Regions from separate parts of the Homo sapiens genome. Here all the other regions are linked to region 1. The links are contacts of gene promoters, found by promoter capture Hi-C in human tissues and cell types (Jung and others, 2019). All regions are on one chromosome and are shown on one strand. Each heading gives the region's core, a stretch centred on a gene start or on the middle of the fragment in contact. The rest is flanking DNA. Distances are from core to core; before and after follow the strand shown. Region 1 holds the start of BOK (BCL2 family apoptosis regulator BOK). Region 2 overlaps HDLBP (high density lipoprotein binding protein). Region 3 overlaps ANO7 (anoctamin 7). Region 4 holds the start of PDCD1 (programmed cell death 1).

Evidence for each region. Contacts are between HindIII fragments. The study calls those that stand out against the background at their distance.
Region 2: a fragment that was not itself captured here is called in contact with the fragment with the promoter of BOK in region 1 in 3 of the 25 tissues and cell types used here (dorsolateral prefrontal cortex, hippocampus and mesenchymal stem cells).
Region 3: a contact is called between a fragment that was not itself captured here and the fragment with the promoter of BOK in region 1, in 1 of the 25 tissues and cell types used here (lymphoblastoid cells).
Region 4: the fragment with the promoter of PDCD1 here is called in contact with the fragment with the promoter of BOK in region 1 in 1 of the 25 tissues and cell types used here (heart left ventricle).

The regions. Positions count from the first base shown.
Region 1 is chr2:241,555,753-241,560,096 of GRCh38, forward strand. BOK (BCL2 family apoptosis regulator BOK) reads left to right here and starts at 2,993. Exons shown (of 5, transcript NM_032515.5): 1 at 2,993-3,241; 2 at 3,703-3,951. The coding sequence starts at 3,732. BOK-AS1 (BOK antisense RNA 1) reads right to left here and starts at 3,391. Exons shown (of 2, transcript NR_033346.1): 1 at 3,025-3,391. RefSeq lists silencers at 3,656-3,735, 3,766-3,835, 3,886-4,015. The HindIII fragment of the contact is 1,356 bases long and covers 2,022-3,377 here.
Region 2 is chr2:241,277,954-241,282,350 of GRCh38, forward strand. All of the region lies in intron 1 of HDLBP (high density lipoprotein binding protein), which reads right to left. Among named protein-coding and RNA genes, the nearest start is that of HDLBP-AS1, 8.0 kb to the left of the region's middle. RefSeq lists an enhancer at 3,281-3,781. The HindIII fragment of the contact is 3,126 bases long and covers 956-4,081 here.
Region 3 is chr2:241,202,543-241,206,950 of GRCh38, forward strand. ANO7 (anoctamin 7) reads left to right here. Exons shown (of 25, transcript NM_001370694.2): 9 at 791-956; 10 at 2,323-2,413. Among named protein-coding and RNA genes, the nearest start is that of ANO7, 16 kb to the left of the region's middle. The HindIII fragment of the contact is 6,060 bases long and covers 1-4,408 here.
Region 4 is chr2:241,857,263-241,861,325 of GRCh38, forward strand. It overlaps PDCD1 (programmed cell death 1), which reads right to left and starts at 1,632. Exons shown (of 5, transcript NM_005018.3): 1 at 1,501-1,632. The coding sequence starts at 1,576. LOC124908032 (a long non-coding RNA gene) reads left to right here and starts at 1,810. Exons shown (of 2, transcript XR_007088436.1): 1 at 1,810-2,815. RefSeq lists an enhancer at 838-1,800. The HindIII fragment of the contact is 28,999 bases long and covers 1-4,063 here.

The DNA.
Region 1 (4,344 bases), core at 1,743-4,242:
TCTGCAGCTCCTGGGATGCAGAACATGTCTATCAATTATGCCCAGTGGCCCACTACCCCCATGTCAGAGCCCAGGAGACGGCTCCAACAGGAGACAGGAAGCAGGAAGTATGAGTTCATTCTGCACAGGAGGAAACTGAGCCTGTGAATGGGGCAGGAAGTTGCCTGAGGCTACACAGCGGGAAGGTTGCAGGTGTGAGCTTCCTGGTCTCCTGCCTGCAAGTACAGGCTCTTCCCCTGACAGAGGTACTTCAGGAACCATGGAGTTAGACCCCAAGGTTTACAGTCTGGCCATGCCCAGTCTTGCAGTGACTCCTTGGGCGAGATCTTTTCCCTCTCTGCATTTCTGTAATGCTATCTACAGGGAATCCCAAACCTGACTGCTCTTCAGAAATCTGAGGCGCACACTGTCCAAGGAGCTCTAGACTCTACATTAAAGAGTTCATTAAAATGCACCCTCAGATTTTACTGTACTACAGCTTTTCTGAAAAAGCAGCTAACAATGACTGAGCACTTACTACATGACATGGATTAAGAATTCAGTCCTCCCAGGCTGGGCGCTGTGGCTTACGCCTATAATCCCAGAACTTTGTGATGCCAAGGCAGGTAGATCACGAGGTCAAGAGATCGAGACCATCCTGGCCAACATGGTGAAACCCCCTCTCTACCAAAAATACAAACAATTAGCCGGGCGTGGTGTCAGGTGCCTGTAGTCCCAGCTACTCGGGAGGCTGAGGCAGGAGAATCGCTGGAGCCCAGGAGGCGGGGTTGCAGTGAGCCGAGTTTACGCCATTGCACTCCAGCCTGGCAACAGAGCGAGACTCCGTCTCAAAAAAAAAAAAAAAAAAAAAGAATTCAGTCCTCTCAACAATCCTAGGAGGTAGGTATTATTATTCTTCCTACTTCCCAGACAGGAAAGTCATAGCAGATAGAAGTTCCATAGCTTTCCTAGCTTCTGGTAATGTTCCTGACAGGTTTCGGTATTAAAATTACATTGACCTCATAAAATGAGTTGGGAAATACTCCCTCATTTTTAGTCTCTGTGCAGGTTTGTATGAGACTGGTGGTATTTTTTTAACTGTTGAGAAGAATTTCTCAATGAAACCATCTGAACCTAGAATTTTCTTTGTGGGAAGATTTTAAATTACAGATTCAATGCATTTAATTGGTGTAGGACTATCCAGATTTTCTATTTCTTTTAGTGTCAGTTTTGGTAAGTTGTGTATCATCTAAAATTTCAAATGCACTGTCAAAAAGTCCTCCATACTATCTTTTTATCCCTTTAATGCTTGTAGTATCTACAGTGATGTCCTCTTTTTCATTCTTGATAGTGAAATTTGTGTTATCTTTTTTCTTACTCAATCTTTCTGGGGATTTATCAGTTCTATTAATCTCTTCAAAGAACCAATTTTTGGCTTTGTTGATTTTCTCTATTTTTTGCTTTATTCCATTAATTTCTGCTCTTATTTTTATTATTTCCTTTCATCTTTAGTTTTATTGTTCTTTTCTAGCTTCTTGAGTGGAAGCTTAGAGCAGTAATTTTATTTTTCTTTTTCCTTTTTTTTTTTTTTTTTTGAGATGGAATCACACTCTGTTGTCCAGGCTGGAGTGCAGGTGGGATGATCTCTGCTCACTGCAACCTTCGCCTCCCAGGTTCAAGCAATTCTCCTGCCTCAGCCTCCTTAGTAGCTGGGATTACAGACACCTGCCACCACACCCAACTCATTTTTTGTATCTCTAGTAGAGACGGGGTTTTCACCATTTTGACCCGGCTGGTCTCAAACTCCTGAGCTCAGGTGATCTGCCCACCTAGGCCTCCCAAAATGCTGGGATTACAGGTCTGAGTCATTTCACCTGGCCTAATTTTCAATCCTTCTTCTAAAGCTATCAAATTTCCTCTAAGCAGTGTTTTAGTTGCACTGTACAGCATTTGATATGTCTTATTTTTCACTGTTCTTGTCAACATATTTTAATCTTCCACTGTGATTATTGACCCATTGATTATTTAGAAGTGTGACATGTAATTTCCAAGCATTTGCAGATTTTCCAGTAATTTTTCTGTTATTGACTTTTAATTCAGAGAGGACACACTGTAAGATTTCAATCCGTTGAGATTTGCTGAGACTTGTATAAGGTCCATGATATGGTCTATTTCGATAAACATCCTATGTGCACATGGGAAGAATAAGTATTTTATAGTGTTGTACACACGTGAATTAGGCCAAGTTGGTTAATCCTATTGTTCAAACTGTGTGAGGTTGATTCAAGGATAAAGAAATAAACCAGTGGGATAGAGTTCCGAGACACACACACACACACACACACACTCTTCAGCTGATTTATGTTGAGATGTTGGGGACTCCTCCAATTCGGTGGAAAAAAAATGATGCTTTTCAATAAATGATGCCAGGTCAATTGGATATCTACACGAAAAAAAATGAGCTCTAGCCCCGTACCACACCATTCACAATAATTAATATGTAATCAATCATAGATCTAAATATGAGCCCTAAAACAAGCTTCTAAAAGGAAATACAGGAGGATATCCCAATAAAAAGGTACTAACCATAAAGAAAATATTGATAAATTGGACATCACTAAGAGTAACTCCTGTTCATCCAAAGCAAAAGTAAACCACAAAATAGAGGAAGATATTTGCAATAACTTCAATAAATGCGAATCCAATAATCCATCTACAATACAAAGGGCATGCGTCCGGACCAAGAACACGTCTCCAGACTCTGGAAAGAACCTCTACGAACGAAGAAGACAACCCAATTTTCAAATGGACCCCGGGGAACACCCAGGCGGCTGGGGCTGGCTCTAGGTCCCCACTGCTCTGCCTTGCGGGGGCCGCTCCGGCCTGGTCGCCTTCTCCGGGCGCATCCAGGGAACTCGCTCGGTCCTCCTTAAGCGGGGAAGCTCGGAAAGCGTCTCCCCGACTCCGCCCCCAGGGTTGCCTTTCCCTTAGAAGGCCAAGCCCCAAGCCCAGCCTCTCGCCAGCTGGGAGTCGCGCGCTGCCCACCTCGCTGCCCAGGCCCCCGACGCCGCGGCAGGAGCCCCCCAAGAGCGCGGGAAGCCCCGTGGACCTGGCGCTCCCGGCTCGGGCGTGGACGGGGCGGGCGCCGGGGCGGGGCGCGCGTCCTCGCGGGTCTGAATGGAAGGGTCGAGGTCGTCGTCGGCGGCGAGCAGATCCTGAAGCCAGAACTCCACCCCGGCGCCCGCGCCATGCGGCGGGAGAGGTGAGCGCGGCGGGCGTGGCGTCCGTGCCGGGGTGCCCGGGGTGCCACGGGAACGGCGAGGCCGGGGACACGCGCGCAGGACGCCAGCGGCGGAGGTGGGCGGCCCCGGGCCGGGGCGGGGAGGGCCGGGTCCTGGCAGTCGCCGTGGGGGACGCGCTGGGCTGTGCCCTCCGCCCCCGCCGCCCACGCACTCGTCTTCGAGGGCGGGCCCGGCGGCCCCGGAGCAAACCGCCGTCTCCCCGCGGCCCCACCGGTCCCTGGCAGCCTCGGGGAATGTCTGTAGCTGAATTCGGGCTCTGAAAGAAGGTGGCGCTGGGTTTTTAAAGATTTGGGGCACAAAAAACGAGAGCGGACCCGGCGCCGGCTACGGCCCTTCCCGAGGGCCACGCCCAGCCCGGCGCCCCGCGCGCCCCGTTCCCCGCGCCGCCTCCCTCCACCCGGCTGAGCGCTTGTGCCCGCAGGTGCGGCGCCCCCCACCCGCGTCGCCGCCATGGAGGTGCTGCGGCGCTCCTCGGTCTTCGCCGCCGAGATCATGGACGCCTTTGACCGCTCGCCCACAGACAAGGAGCTGGTGGCCCAGGCCAAGGCGCTGGGCCGGGAGTACGTGCACGCGCGGCTGCTGCGCGCCGGCCTCTCCTGGAGCGCGCCCGAGCGTGCCGCGCCGGTCCCGGGACGCCTGGCTGAGGTGTGCGCGGTGCTGCTGCGCCTGGGTGAGTGCGCCCTGGTGGGATCCCCAGCTGCGCCTCCTCCCCTGCTGGGCCGCAGCCTCCCTCCGAGGCCGAGATGGGGGTCCGGCCCAGGGGCGCCCACCCCCTGCCTGGGACGGCCAGGCGCTCGGGACAGGGCCACCCAGGCGGGTGCTCCCGGATCTGCCCTCTCAGGCCTCCCACGCCACAGGCCCCCCCATCAGCTGCCTGCTCAGCCCAGATTTCAGTCATGCTGGCCATAAACAATAGAAAGCTCCAGAAAGAATAATCTATTAGTGGGTGGCTAAGCTTCCACAGTGACCCTTGTTCTCAGCTGGGCACAGAAACCCTTTGTAGGAGCACGTGTCCCGATGTTTATTTTGGAAAACAGATTCTTGCTGTTACTGGCCGAGATCC
Region 2 (4,397 bases), core at 1,269-3,768, 280 kb before region 1:
TCCATCTCAAAAAAAACCAAAAAACAACAACAACAAAATAATACAACAAAAAGGCGGGTCTCCAAATGCTTTTGTAAGGAAGCTTTCAGAGATTATCTCCCACACAAAGCTAGGGGGCTTGGACTCATCACAGACAAAGGAGTAGGTGAATCTCACCTAGGTATTTAAAAGCCAAAGCCTGAAACAATCTTGCAAACTGACCCAGAAATAGAAAAACAAATATTATCACGATGAAGTTTAATCCAGTAATGTGGGGGGGTACAATATTAGAAAAACAGAGTAAAGTTACTCGCCACATTAACAGCATGAGGGGCAAAGATAATTTGATCATTTCAAAAGATTCAAATAGGCTGGGCACGGTGGCTCGTGCCTGTAATCCCAGCACTTTGGGAGGCTGAGGCAGGCAGATACCTGAGGTCAAGAGTTCGAGACCAGCCTGGCCAATATGGCGAAACTCCGTCTCTACTAAACATACAAACATTAGCCGGGCATGGTGGCACATGCCTGTACTCCCAGCTACTTGGGAGGCTGAGGCAGGAGGATTGCTTGAACCCGGGAGGTGGAGGTTGCAGTGAAACAAGATGGTGCCACTGCACTCCAGCCTGGGCAACAGAGCAAGACTCCATCTCCAAAAAAAAAAAAATTCAAATGAAGAATCTCAACTAATTAACCCATTCCTAATAGCAACTAGGAATATAAGCCAGGGCAGTATGGCAAGAAAAGAAAGTTACCAGAATTGAAAATGAACCAAAACTGCCAGTATTCACAGACAATATAACTGTGCTGGAAGAAAATCCAGGAGGATGTATGGACACACTATTAGAACTAATTAAAAAGTTCAGTAAGTTTTCTGGAAATAAAACCAATACACACAATCAATTATGTTTCCAAAACACCAGCAACAAACTATTAAAAATAAATCTAAGCCGGGTGTGGTGATGCATGCCTGTAGTCCCAGCTACTTGGGGGGCTGAGACACGAGAATCGCTTGAACCCAGGAGGCGGATGCTGCAGTGAACCAAGATCACGCCACTGCACTGCCGCGTGAGCAACAGCGTGAGACTCTGTCCCCTCTCCACCCCTCTAAAAAAATTTTTTAAAATCTAATTAAGAAAAAAAATGTGATTTATAGAACTTATAAAAACCTTTGTCAAAATACAGAAATGACCTTAATAAATGGAGACAGGCCATGGTCATCTAAAGAAAGACTTAATCATGGATAGTAATTCTCCCCTAATTAGACTAGAAATTCAATGCAAATGTAACTTAAATCCCAAAAGGTATGTGTGTGTATGGAATTTTACAACCAGATTTTATACAATTTTTATTTATACAAGTTTTCTATATGTAATTTTTATAATGTTGCATTGCAAACACTGAATTGTAAAAAAAATTATTTATATACACCATTTTTAGAATAGTTACAAATACAATCATATTTACACAACAAAATTTATACAAAAGATCAAGGACCAAGAACAGCTAATATAACTCTGAAGAAAACAACGTGGAGGAGGGCTTGCTCTCTCCAGTGTCAGTAATTCAGGCTGTGGTGCTAGTGCCGGGGACAGACACAGAGAACAAGGGAGCAGCAGAGTGGGCCCAACGCAGACACCACAGACACTGACATTGCCTGCCTCAGATGTGGTCGTGTGGATCAGCAGGGAGATGGATGATGCAATCAATGGCTCTGGGAAAACTGGTTATCTACAGTAGGAGGGAAAAACTAGGTCCTTATTTGACACCATTTGCAAGGCCTATTAAGGCTTAAGAAGCAAATACTCCACGAGCGAACGATCCCACTTCTGGAGACGTACTTCAGGAAAAAGCTTTCCTGGGCAAAAGGAAATATGTACAAGAATGCTCATCTCACTGCACTGCTAGTAATAGTCAACAAATTTTTAAGAACCTAATTGTCAGTGGATAACATGGATAAACAGAGGTATACAATTTATGCAGCCTACTCCTCTCTTTGCTTTAACTTATCACCTGACAGGAACCCGCTGCAGTGGAGCCATGCTGAAGGGGTTAGGAGGAGCAGCGGACCAGGGGTCATCTCCAAGGCTGTGGGAGCAGAGATGTGGAGGACAGGCGCCCACCACTTCCTTGGCAGCAGTGCAGTCTTATAGGAAGTTATTGGCACCATGGGATGGGAGCTAAGTTTAGCACAATTTGCACTCCCATACTGAGTGTGGTGGTCAAAGTCAGGTCAAAGAAATGTTTCCATCCCATTTGAAAGCTGAAAATTTAAAATTATATGTGGCTCATATTACATTTTTATTAGCACAAACTAATTTTATAATTAAGCTTATTTATACTCAGTTTAATTTGACTTGTAGCATATTCTAATAAGGAACAACTTTTCTTTGGCTCACATGTATTTACTGCTAATATATATTACAGTATATATTATTACATTAAACTCCCAGCCCTAAAATAAAGTCTCACGAAAGTTCAGATGAGACAGAAACAAAGACCTTGCAGTCCAGGGTTTCCTGTAAATTTGCCTTGTTCTTTCTCCACTAACTAATTCTGTCAGTTTCACTACTTTTCAGGAAGTAACAGAAAAGGTAACTTAGTATATTCTCCAGTGACACTGTTCTCTGGCTTATTTCTTTGATTCACGTATTTCTAGGTAAGGTGAAAATACGTAACTTGTGTTTTATCCGAGTCATTATAGGCACCTATAATGAGAACAAATTGTATAAAGAACACCAAACTTGTTGCCAGGATACCTGCTTTCAGAATCTTGCTCAGATATAATTTGGGTCACCTTGGCTAGTTGTTTAAGCTCTCAACTTTAATAATTCACATTTCTAAGTTTTGGGGCCTTTTCTGCAAGTTGTTAAAAAGATCAAGGAAAATGGTATCTAAAAGAACCTGCCCTTTAATAGGTATCTCACTGTTTGGGAATGCTAACATTTAATTCCACTAAACCACTAAACTCACTACTTTCCACTAAATTAATACATTTAGTGGAGTATGCCACTACATTAATTTTACAAATACAGAAACAATCAGCACATATTTCTACAGCTGAGTAAAGAATAATATTTACTTAGAGCCTAATTAAAGAACATGTGTCAGATAAATACAATTTATTTTCTTAATAAGATGGGGGGCTGGGCGCGGTGGCTCACGCCTGTAATCCCAGCACTTTGGGAGGCCGAGGTGGGCGGATCACTTGAGGTCGAGAGATCGAGATCAGCCTGACCAACAGGGAGAAACCCCATCTCTACTAAAACACAAAATTACTCGGGCTTGGGGGTGCATGCCTGTAATCCCAGCTACTCGGGAGGCTGAGGTGGGAGAATCGCTTGAACCCGGGAGGCAGAGGTTGCAGTGAGCCGAGATCGCGCCATTGCACTCCAGCCTGTGCAACAGGAGTGAAACTCCGTCTTAAAAATAAATAAATAAATAAGCCAGGCATGGTGGCACGTGCCTGTAATCCCAGCTACTCGGGAGGCTGAGGTGGGAGAATTGCTTGGGCCTAGGAGGTGGGGGTTGCAATGAGTTGAGATCGTGACACTGCACTCCAGCCTGGCTGACCAAGTGAGACCCTGTCTCAAAAAAATAAAAAAGAGGATAGGACAAATGTTAGGTCCAAAAGAATAAATTGATGGATTTTCATAGAAATAGACTACTCTTTTGAGCTGTGCTGGCCAACATCTACTGGCCACATGTCACTACAGCCTTCACACGTGGCTAGTTTAAAATGATATGTGCTGTAAGTCTAAAATATACATCAGATTTTGAAGATTTAGTACAAGAAATACTATCTAAAACATTTTATTATTAGTTTTAGGATGGATTACATGTAAAATGGTAGTATCTTACATTGGGTGAAACAATATTATTAAAATTAACTTCACTTGTTTATTTTTATATTTTTAAGGCAGATGTTGGAAAATTTTAAATATATGTGGCTCATATTGGACAGCAGTGCTACAGTGTCTGTATTTTCAAACCAAAGCTAAACTATAAACTGACAAGGGAGTTTTTCTCATTAGTAAACTTTATATAACAATCTTAAGGAAAAAATATTTTATTACAAATCTTTTGTGTTTAATGAATAAATTTACATTAGGGGAAAAGAGTATAAAATGCGTCTTCTTCTCAATCATGAAAGCATCTCCTCTACCACAAACACAAACATGGCACACGTGGCAGGCTCAAACATTTCTGGGGAAAAGAGGAGCACGTTACGTTTACAGTATTTCCTAAAGGACTCTTTAATAACCCATTTTTAAAAAATGGGCAAAAGATACAAGCAGGCCTTTCATGGAAATGCAGGAAACATTTATTCAATTTGTATTTTAAAATGCAAGTGAAAAGTAGAATAAGATTCTACATTTCACCTCAGTTTGGCAAAAATAAAATCTGAAGACTCAAAAAAA
Region 3 (4,408 bases), core at 975-3,474, 350 kb before region 1:
ACAGGCCGGTCCCTGGGCTCTAGATGCTATGGCTCTGTCTCTCTGGGTAGCGTCTCTTGCTGGGAAAGACAGTGAGGTCTCCTATCCCCCTCCAGAAGCTGGGTAAACTGAGGCAATGCCAAAGCGGGCACTGACCAGGGCAGCTGCCGCTGCACCTGTTCCTATCAGCGTTACCATCATCCCTGAGAAAACAGCCACTGTGGGGAGCAGAAGGCCATTTATTCCCCCACCCGCCCAAGCCTTCCCCCTTGGCCGAGCAGGGGAGGGGCCTTGCAGGCAGCCAGGGCATCTGGGGCCTGGTCAGGCCTGAGCCCACTGCTGCATGGCCAGGGGTCCAGTCCTGCCCCAACGCCGTCATGAGGGTTAAATGAAAAAGTGGGTGTGGAAATGCCAGGTGTCCCACCTTGCTGGGGTGGCTCCTCCCGCCAGCCAGGGCCCAGAATGCACAGCACAGGACACGAGCCTGGGGACTCTCCAACCCAGAGAAGGTGCTGGACCCTGGACCACCGCCACTGGCTTCTCTCAGGGTGGCCTCTCCAGGCCCTTCCCCGCCCTGAACCCTCGAAGTCCAGGAGTCAGAGGGGCCTCACCACATATGTCCCCTCCTCAGAGAGGTCCTCCCGGACCACCCTGTACCCACCCCTCCACATTACTCTATTTTTTCTTCATGGAGCAATCCCAGACTCCCAGGCCTGTCTGCCCATGTCCCACACTGAAGCCCCTGCACCTACAACAGTGCCCAGTGGGGTCAGCTGGGGGAGCCTCCCACCCACAGGCCGCTCGCCCCCAGGGCCCCTTCAAGACGCCCCCAGAGGGCCCGCAGGCTCCACGCCTCAACCAGCGCCAAGTCCTTTTCCAGCACTGGGCGCGCTGGGGCAAGTGGAACAAGTACCAGCCCCTGGACCACGTGCGCAGGTACTTCGGGGAGAAGGTGGCCCTCTACTTCGCCTGGCTCGGTGAGTCCCCCCCGCTGCCCCCCAGACCACCTGGGCCCCCCCAGCTTGGTGTCAGGTTGTAACAATTTGCCAGTCCGTACCCCTGGAGGGCAGCGTGCGTGGGGGCCTGGACGGTGGGCGCAGCTCTTGGCTCGACCGGGCTGCCCTCCTGGCTCCCCTCAAGCCCACTCACTCTAACTGGGCGCCATGACGATGCCGGGCCCTGGCCTCCTAATGCTCCAGTAACAGTGCTGAGAGCCGCTTCTGCTGGTGGGGGTCTCTCCTGACTCCCTCCCCGAATGTCACTGGCCCATGAGGCCCTGGGGCAACCCCAGGAACTTCCATCCTAGGGAGGTCGCCCCTGCCTGGGTCCAGGCCAAGCCTCTCATCTCCTCCAAGCAGGCCATCTGCCCCAGGCAACCCCAGAGCTGTTCCTCCTGGGTCCTGGCTGCCCTCACCCCACTCAGCTCTTGGCACCCTCCCTTCCCCATCCTGGGTCAGACCCAACCCCTTCATTCTGTGCCCCAGAACTTCCAAAGCCCTTTCTCATCCGCACACACAGCCCCACCGTGGACCCAGACAATAGAGCCAGCCAGGGCAGCGGGCGGGGCCGGCAGGCATGGAAGGGCAGCCGGGGCACAGCATCGGGGCAGAGGGACAGCTCCTGTGTGCCAGGACTCACCCGGCCATCTCAGGACCTGGAGCAGCAACCCTGGGACAGCACGGCCAGGCTGGGGGCTTCTGGGGGCAAGCAGGGCCAGGGCTGGATCTGGGCTCCAGGCAGACTTGCGTTTCACAGCAGTCACTTTGGCCAGCAGAGAGTCAGGCAGGAGACAGGACACCAGGCCTGGGACTGGACTAGCCCTATGGGAGGCAGTGGGGGTACATGCTGAGGGCCTGGGGTAACTGAGGGATTGCGGCTGTGGTCAGATGAGGCAGGGGCCAGGGTGGGGGTTGGGTGGTGGGGAGGGAGGTACCCGGAATGACTCGTGGTTTCCCTGGGGCTGGAACACGGGTGGGCCCACAGCTCTGTGGTGGGCAGGATGTAGAGGGACTTCTCTGTCCGTCCCGGGCAGGTTGGTTGGAGTGAGCTGGCTGAGGAGAAGGCATCCAGAGGTGGAGAGCCTGGTGGGCTGGAGCCCCAGCAGCACTGGTGTTGGGGTCAATGTGGTAGGGGTGTCCAGAGTCTAGGGCAGAGGCCCAGGAGGGTGGGCCGTGCCAGAGCTGCCAGGGAGAGCTGTGTACCTCTTGGCCTCCTCACATAGGGCCCCAGCCCCCAAGCTGGGCTGAGGGTGGTCCCTAGGGGACAAGCATGGCTGTGCAGACCCCTACCTGGGGCCCCCAAGCCTGGGTTCCTGATGGTGGACCCCTGCCATCCTCTCTACAGGGTTTTACACAGGCTGGCTCCTGCCAGCGGCAGTGGTGGGCACACTGGTGTTCCTGGTGGGCTGCTTCCTGGTGTTCTCAGACATACCCACGTGAGTGTTCCCTCTCCGCAGCTCTGGGGCCTGGTGCTGGGCCTCCAGATGGGTGTGGGGCGGGGGGACCCCTAGGTGCTAGGTCCTGTGCAGACAGCTGGTGCTTGAGGTGATTGAGGTGTGAGGTGAGCACATGCCTGTCTTCAGGAGTGTCACAGAGGGCCTTGTGGACATGGCTGAAAGGCTGGCAGGTGGACAGGAGTGCTCCCAGGCTGACAGGTGGACAGGAGTGCTCCCAGGCTGACAGGTGGACAGGAGTGCTCCCAAACTGACAGGTGGTCAGGAGCACTCCCAGACTGACAGGCAGACGGGGCGCTCCCAGGCTGACAGGTAGTCAGGAGTGCTCCCAGGCTGGCACCGGTGGATAGGAGTGCTCCCAGGCTGACAGGTGGTCAGGAGTGCTCCCAGGCTGATAGGTGGACAGGAGTGCTCCCAGGCTGACAGGTAGCTAGGACTGCTCTCAGGCTGAAACAGGTAGACAGGTGTGCTCTCAGGCTGACACAGGTGGATAAGAGTGCTCCAAGGCTGACACAGGTGGACAGGAGTGCTCCCAGTCTGACAGGTGGACAGGAGTGCTCCAAGGCTGACACAGGTGGACAGGAGTGCTCCCAGTCTGACAGGTGGACAGGAGTGCTCCCAGGCTGACACAGGTGGACAGGAGTGCTCCCAGCCTGACACAGGTGGGCAGGAGTGCTCCCAGCCTGACACAGGTGGACAGGAGTGCTCCAAGGCTGACACAGGTGGACAGGAGTGTTCCCAGTCTGACAAGTGGACAGGAGTGCTCCCAGGCTGACAGGTGGACAGGAGTGCTCCCAGTCTGACAGGTGGACAGGAGTGCTCCCAGTCTGACAGGTGGACAGGAGTGCTCCCAGGCTGACAGGTGGGCAGGAGTGCTCCCAGCCTGACACAGGTGGGCAGGAGTGCTACCAGGCTGACACAGGTGGACAGGAGTGCTCCCAGGCTGACATAGGTGGACAGGAGTGCTCCCAGCCTGACAGGTGGACAGGAGTGCTCCCAGGCTGACACAGGTGGACAGGAGTGCTCCCAGCCTGACACAGGTGGGCAGGAGTGCTCCCAGCCTGACACAGGTGGACAGGAGTGCTCCAAGGCTGACAGGTGGACAGGAGTGCTCCCAGGTTGACACAAGTGGACAGGAGTGCTCCCAGTCTGACAGGTGGACAGGAGTGCTCCCAGGCTGACAGCTGGGCAGGAATGCTCCCAGCCTGACACAGGTGGGCAGGAGTGCTCCCAGGCTGACACAGGTGGACAGGAGTGCTCCCAGGCTGACAGGTGGACAGGAGTGCTCCCAGGCTGACACAGGTAGACAGGAGTGCTCCCAGTCTGACAGGTGGACAGGAGTGCTCCCAGGCTGACAGGTGGACAGGAGTGCTCCCAGGCTGACACAGGTGGTCAGGAGTGCTCCCAGTCTGACAGGTGGACAGGAGTGCTCCCAGGCTGACACAGGTGGACAGGAGTGCTCCCAGCCTGACACAGGTGGGCAGGAGTGCTCCCAGCCTGACACAGGTGGACAGGAGTGCTCCAAGGCTGACACAGGTGGACAGGAGTGTTCCCAGTCTGACAAGTGGACAGGAGTGCTCCCAGGCTGACAGGTGGACAGGAGTGCTCCCAGTCTGACAGGTGGACAGGAGTGCTCCCAGGCTGACAGGTGGACAGGAGTGCTCCCAGGCTGACAGGTGGGCAGGAGTGCTCCCAGCCAGACACAGGTGGGCAGGAGTGCTACCAGGCTGACACAGGTGGACAGGAGTGCTCCCAGGCTGACATAGGTGGACAGGAGTGCTCCCAGCCTGACAGGTGGACAGGAGTGCTCCCAGGCTGACACAGGTGGACAGGAGTGCTCCCAGCCTGACACAGGTGGGCAGGAGTGCTCCCAGCCTGACACAGGTGGACAGGAGTGCTCCAAGGCTGACAGGTGGACAGGAGTGCTCCCAGGTTGACACAAGTGGACAGGAGTGCTCCCAGTCTGACAGGTGGACA
Region 4 (4,063 bases), core at 382-2,881, 300 kb after region 1:
CACTGCGCCTTGCTGAGTGCCCTGTGCTGTTACCAGTGGGGAAACCGAGGCATGCCACCTGTGAGAGTCTTGTCCGGCACAAGCGCGGGCACCTGAGGCACGAGTGTCAGGCTGCGGACACCTTGCTCTTATCTTTCCCGCCTGGGTCGGGGAGGGTGGCGTCCCGAGGGCGTGCCTGAAGAGCCGGGACACGGGGGGAGAGGCTCGGCTCCCCTCCTGCCTCGCTCAGCTCCCCCTCCCCTGTGACGAGCGCCCCTCTGCCCTCTGGTTCCCCCGCAGTCGTCTCCCTGGGATGCCTTTTGGCCCTTTGCTCTTTGCCTTTTGCCCAGAATCTCCAGTTCTGAGTCCTGAGTGACCCACGGGCCAACCTTAAGAGGTGGCGCTGAGGCAGGAAGGCACGGCCCTGACAAGGATGCTGCCTCAGGTGCCGGGGAGCAGGCCCCGGGAGAGGGGCCGAGGTGGGGAACCCCCAGTCGCCTGCCACAGTGAAGGGGCACCAGGACCCCCGGGGCAGGAGCCTCGAGGGGGTGTCAGGGCGGCCCCAGGGGTGCCCCTCATCTTGTCCTCCCAGTGGTGTCACACCCCGGTACCCAGCAGGGCCCAGAGGGACTGTCTTAGGCTTGGCCTGGGTGAAACCACCCTCCCCAGGCCTTGGCATCCCCAGGTGCAGGCTGGCTGGGCACAGAGGGCCAGCCGGGCACAGAGGGTCCAGGAGCGGGCTGTGGTCACAGTGTACACAGAGGGCCCAGGGTCACGGGCAGCCCAGGAAGAGGCTCCCTCTCTCCTCGATCCGGGAGAGTGAGGCCAAGGCCTCCCCCACGGATGGTCTGAACAGGGCTCGGGGAGAGCCCTGGAATCTGGGCAGAGACCCAGGCGGGCACAATCCCCACCCAGGAGGGATCCTGGAGACAGAAGAACTGTCCTCACTCGAACAGGTACACTTTGGATATAATGAGAAAAATATCACCAGCTCATCTAAACTTTGACGTCGTAAAGCCAAGGTTAGTCCCACATGGGGCTCATCCCATCCTTAGGAAAACTCGAGTGAGGACCAAGGATGCCTGGGCAAGGCAGAGCCGCCACGCAGACTCCCCACGGCCAAGGTTTGGGGTTCTGGCCAGCCTGACCCGTCATTCTACAGAAACACGCAGCCCCAAGGACCGGCTGAGAGGGGACAGAGGTCCTGCCTGCCCAGGAGCAAAGAGGGGACTTGGGCCAGGGGAGGAGTTGGGGCCCAGAGAGGAACCCAGGAGTTCGAGCTGCCCAAAGCCACACAGCTCAGGGTAAGGGGCAGAGCTGGGGGCCAAGGCTGGGCCTGCCACAGCACCCCCCGACCTGCCAGGGACTGAGAGTGAAAGGTCCCTCCAGACCCCTCGCTCCGGGACCCCTGGGCTGCCAGGGCCAGGCCCGCCTCAGCACCCCCCGACCTGCCAGGGACTGAGGGTGGAAGGTCCCTCCAGACCCCTGGCTCTGGGACACCTGACCGCCGACCCCACCTACCTAAGAACCATCCTGGCCGCCAGCCCAGTTGTAGCACCGCCCAGACGACTGGCCAGGGCGCCTGTGGGATCTGCATGCCTGGAGCAGCCCCACCAGAGTGCCGCCTTCTCCACTGCTCAGGCGGAGGTGAGCGGAAGGGAAACTGTCCCAGGTCAGGTTGAAGGGAGGGTGCCCGCCCCTTGCTCCCGCCCCCTCTTCCTCCACATCCACGTGGGCGAGAGTGACAGAGGCAGTGCTGGGGGAGGAGGGGTGAGGAGGGGGTAGGACTGGGGAGAGGGTGGGGGAGGGAGAGAGAGACAGAGACAGGGAGACAGAGGAGATGGGGAGGAGGTGGGCCCGTGGCCCCCACGCCCTACCCCGTGGGGGTCTCCCCAGCTCAGGGCCCCTTCCTCCTCTGTGTCTCTGCTCACTGCTGTGGCCTCTTTCCATATCCCGCCCGAGCTGCCCCTCCTGAGGCTGCCGGGTGGGGGCAGGCCCTTCTCCTCCCCCATCCCCCCCATCTCCCTGGGGGCCGGGCCTCCCTGCCTGGGGAAGGTGGGTGGCCCCCTCTGGGCTCAGGTTCCTGGGCTGCAGTGAGGGGTGGGCTCAACCCCACTCCCATTCTGTCGGAGCCTCTGGGAGCCTCCCGGCTGCCCACAGCCTCTGCCCCTGCTGGGGGCAGGTGCCTGGCCTCTGCCTTCCCGGCCCATCCCCCTTCGCTGGGGCACAGGTGACCCTACTGAATGACAACTGTCCATGGCTAATCGGCTCCCCCTCAAAGCTTCCACCTTGTGGATGGCCTCACACCATGGCCACAGTTCCAGATCTTTCCACCGTGTGATGCCTGCAACAGCCTGACGGGGGGGCTGGGGCGGTGGCAGGGGCTGGCTGTGAGGCTGACCTCCCCTTCCAGCCTTGACCTTCTTCCCCGGGGCCCTGCCCTCCAGCCCACTCGTGCCAGGGTGGGGTGGTTCAGGGGGTCCAGTGCCTGGGCCTGGCTGGCGGCCCGGCGTTTGTGAAATGGCTTGCTTATCTCCTTGTATTCTGTGCTGAGCATTTTATTACAGCGAATGGAAAACAGGAGAAATGAAACTGCTGATATTAGTGATGAGATGCGTCAGGCTCATCAGCTTAAAATAACCGAAGCGAGGCTAGAAACCGCCTGACAGCTGGCGCGGCTGCCTGGCTCCGAGAGACACTCGGCCCGGCTCTGAAGGGAAAACATTAAAGCACCGAAACAGTGGAAAAAGAGCATCAAAGATGATGTCTGCGAGGCGCGGCCACGGCGAGGAAGCTCTCGTTTATGAACAAAGGGCCACTCCCGGGTCTCAGAGATGTGAGGCTGTGTGGGTGGCTTGGTGGGGAGGTGGGGGGGGCCCAGCTGGCCAGGTGGGCTTGGCGGGGGGCCCCCAGGGAGCCTGGCAGCACCCACTGTGCTGCCAGACAGCTAAGGTGGCCCGCAGCAACTGTCTCCTGGCACACCCACCCTTGTGCCTCAGGGGCTGGGGCTCTGGGGCTGGAGAACTGTTGGTTGGTAGGTGCCTCCATAGCCCTGTGCCTCGCCCAGGCAGTGGATAAGTGGCTAAGCTGCCCCTGCTGGCTGTACTTGTCCTGAAGGCAGATTCTGGACAGAACCTCCCTCTGCCCCCAGCCCTGTAGAGCCTTGTTCCAACCTCTGTTGAATGCTGTCTCTGTTCCAGGGCAGCAGTGGGCCTTCCTCAAGGCTCTGAGCTTTGTGGGACGAAGCTGTCCTCTGAGGACTGGGAATGCCACTGTGTGGGCTGGAGGGGAGGCTGGGCCCAGGAGGTGGGCTCTGAGATGGGAGATGCTATCAGACCCCTGGAAGGTCTCCTCACCACCAAGGCCCTGCCCCCAAAATTCCACCTGCCAGGGCTTGGACACATGTCCTGGAGTAGGGGGCGGGCACAGGGAGAAACCCAGCTTCCATCCTACCCCTTCCTTCCTTCTCCTTCTCCCACCCCTCTCCTCTCTCCCTGCAGTTCTTCCCTGTCACCCACTCTCCTTCCCTCCTCCTCTCAGTCCCACTGAAGGCCCCTGGGCCATGGGAGAGGAGACCTGGTGGGGTGGGCCCAGCGTGGAGCCAGGGGACTGCGGCCACTGAGGCCAGGGCTGCCTGATGGTCTCTCCACATTGCTACTCGCTGGAGCACCTGCAAAGAGACACATGGACCCAGGGAGGGTCTGCAGGGCTGCGAGGGGTCTGAGCCTGGAGAGCACAGGGCCTGCAGGGATGCAGGCATTGGGCATTGGGCCTGGACTAGTAGGCTGAACCTACAGGGTCCTGGGACCCCACCCCGAAGCAGATAGGCGGTCCCAGGGCTCAGGTGTGGGGTGGGGACTCATGGAGCCTGCACCCCAATATCACACTCCAGACCACTTATTGACACCCTCCCCCAAACACATACGGTGTCCCCAACACACGATTTCCAACACACCACACCCCAACACACACAGTCCCCAACACACACACAGTCCCCAACACACACACAATCTCCAACACACACAATCCCCCCACACACAATCCTCAACACACACACAAAATTCCCAACACACACAATCCCCAA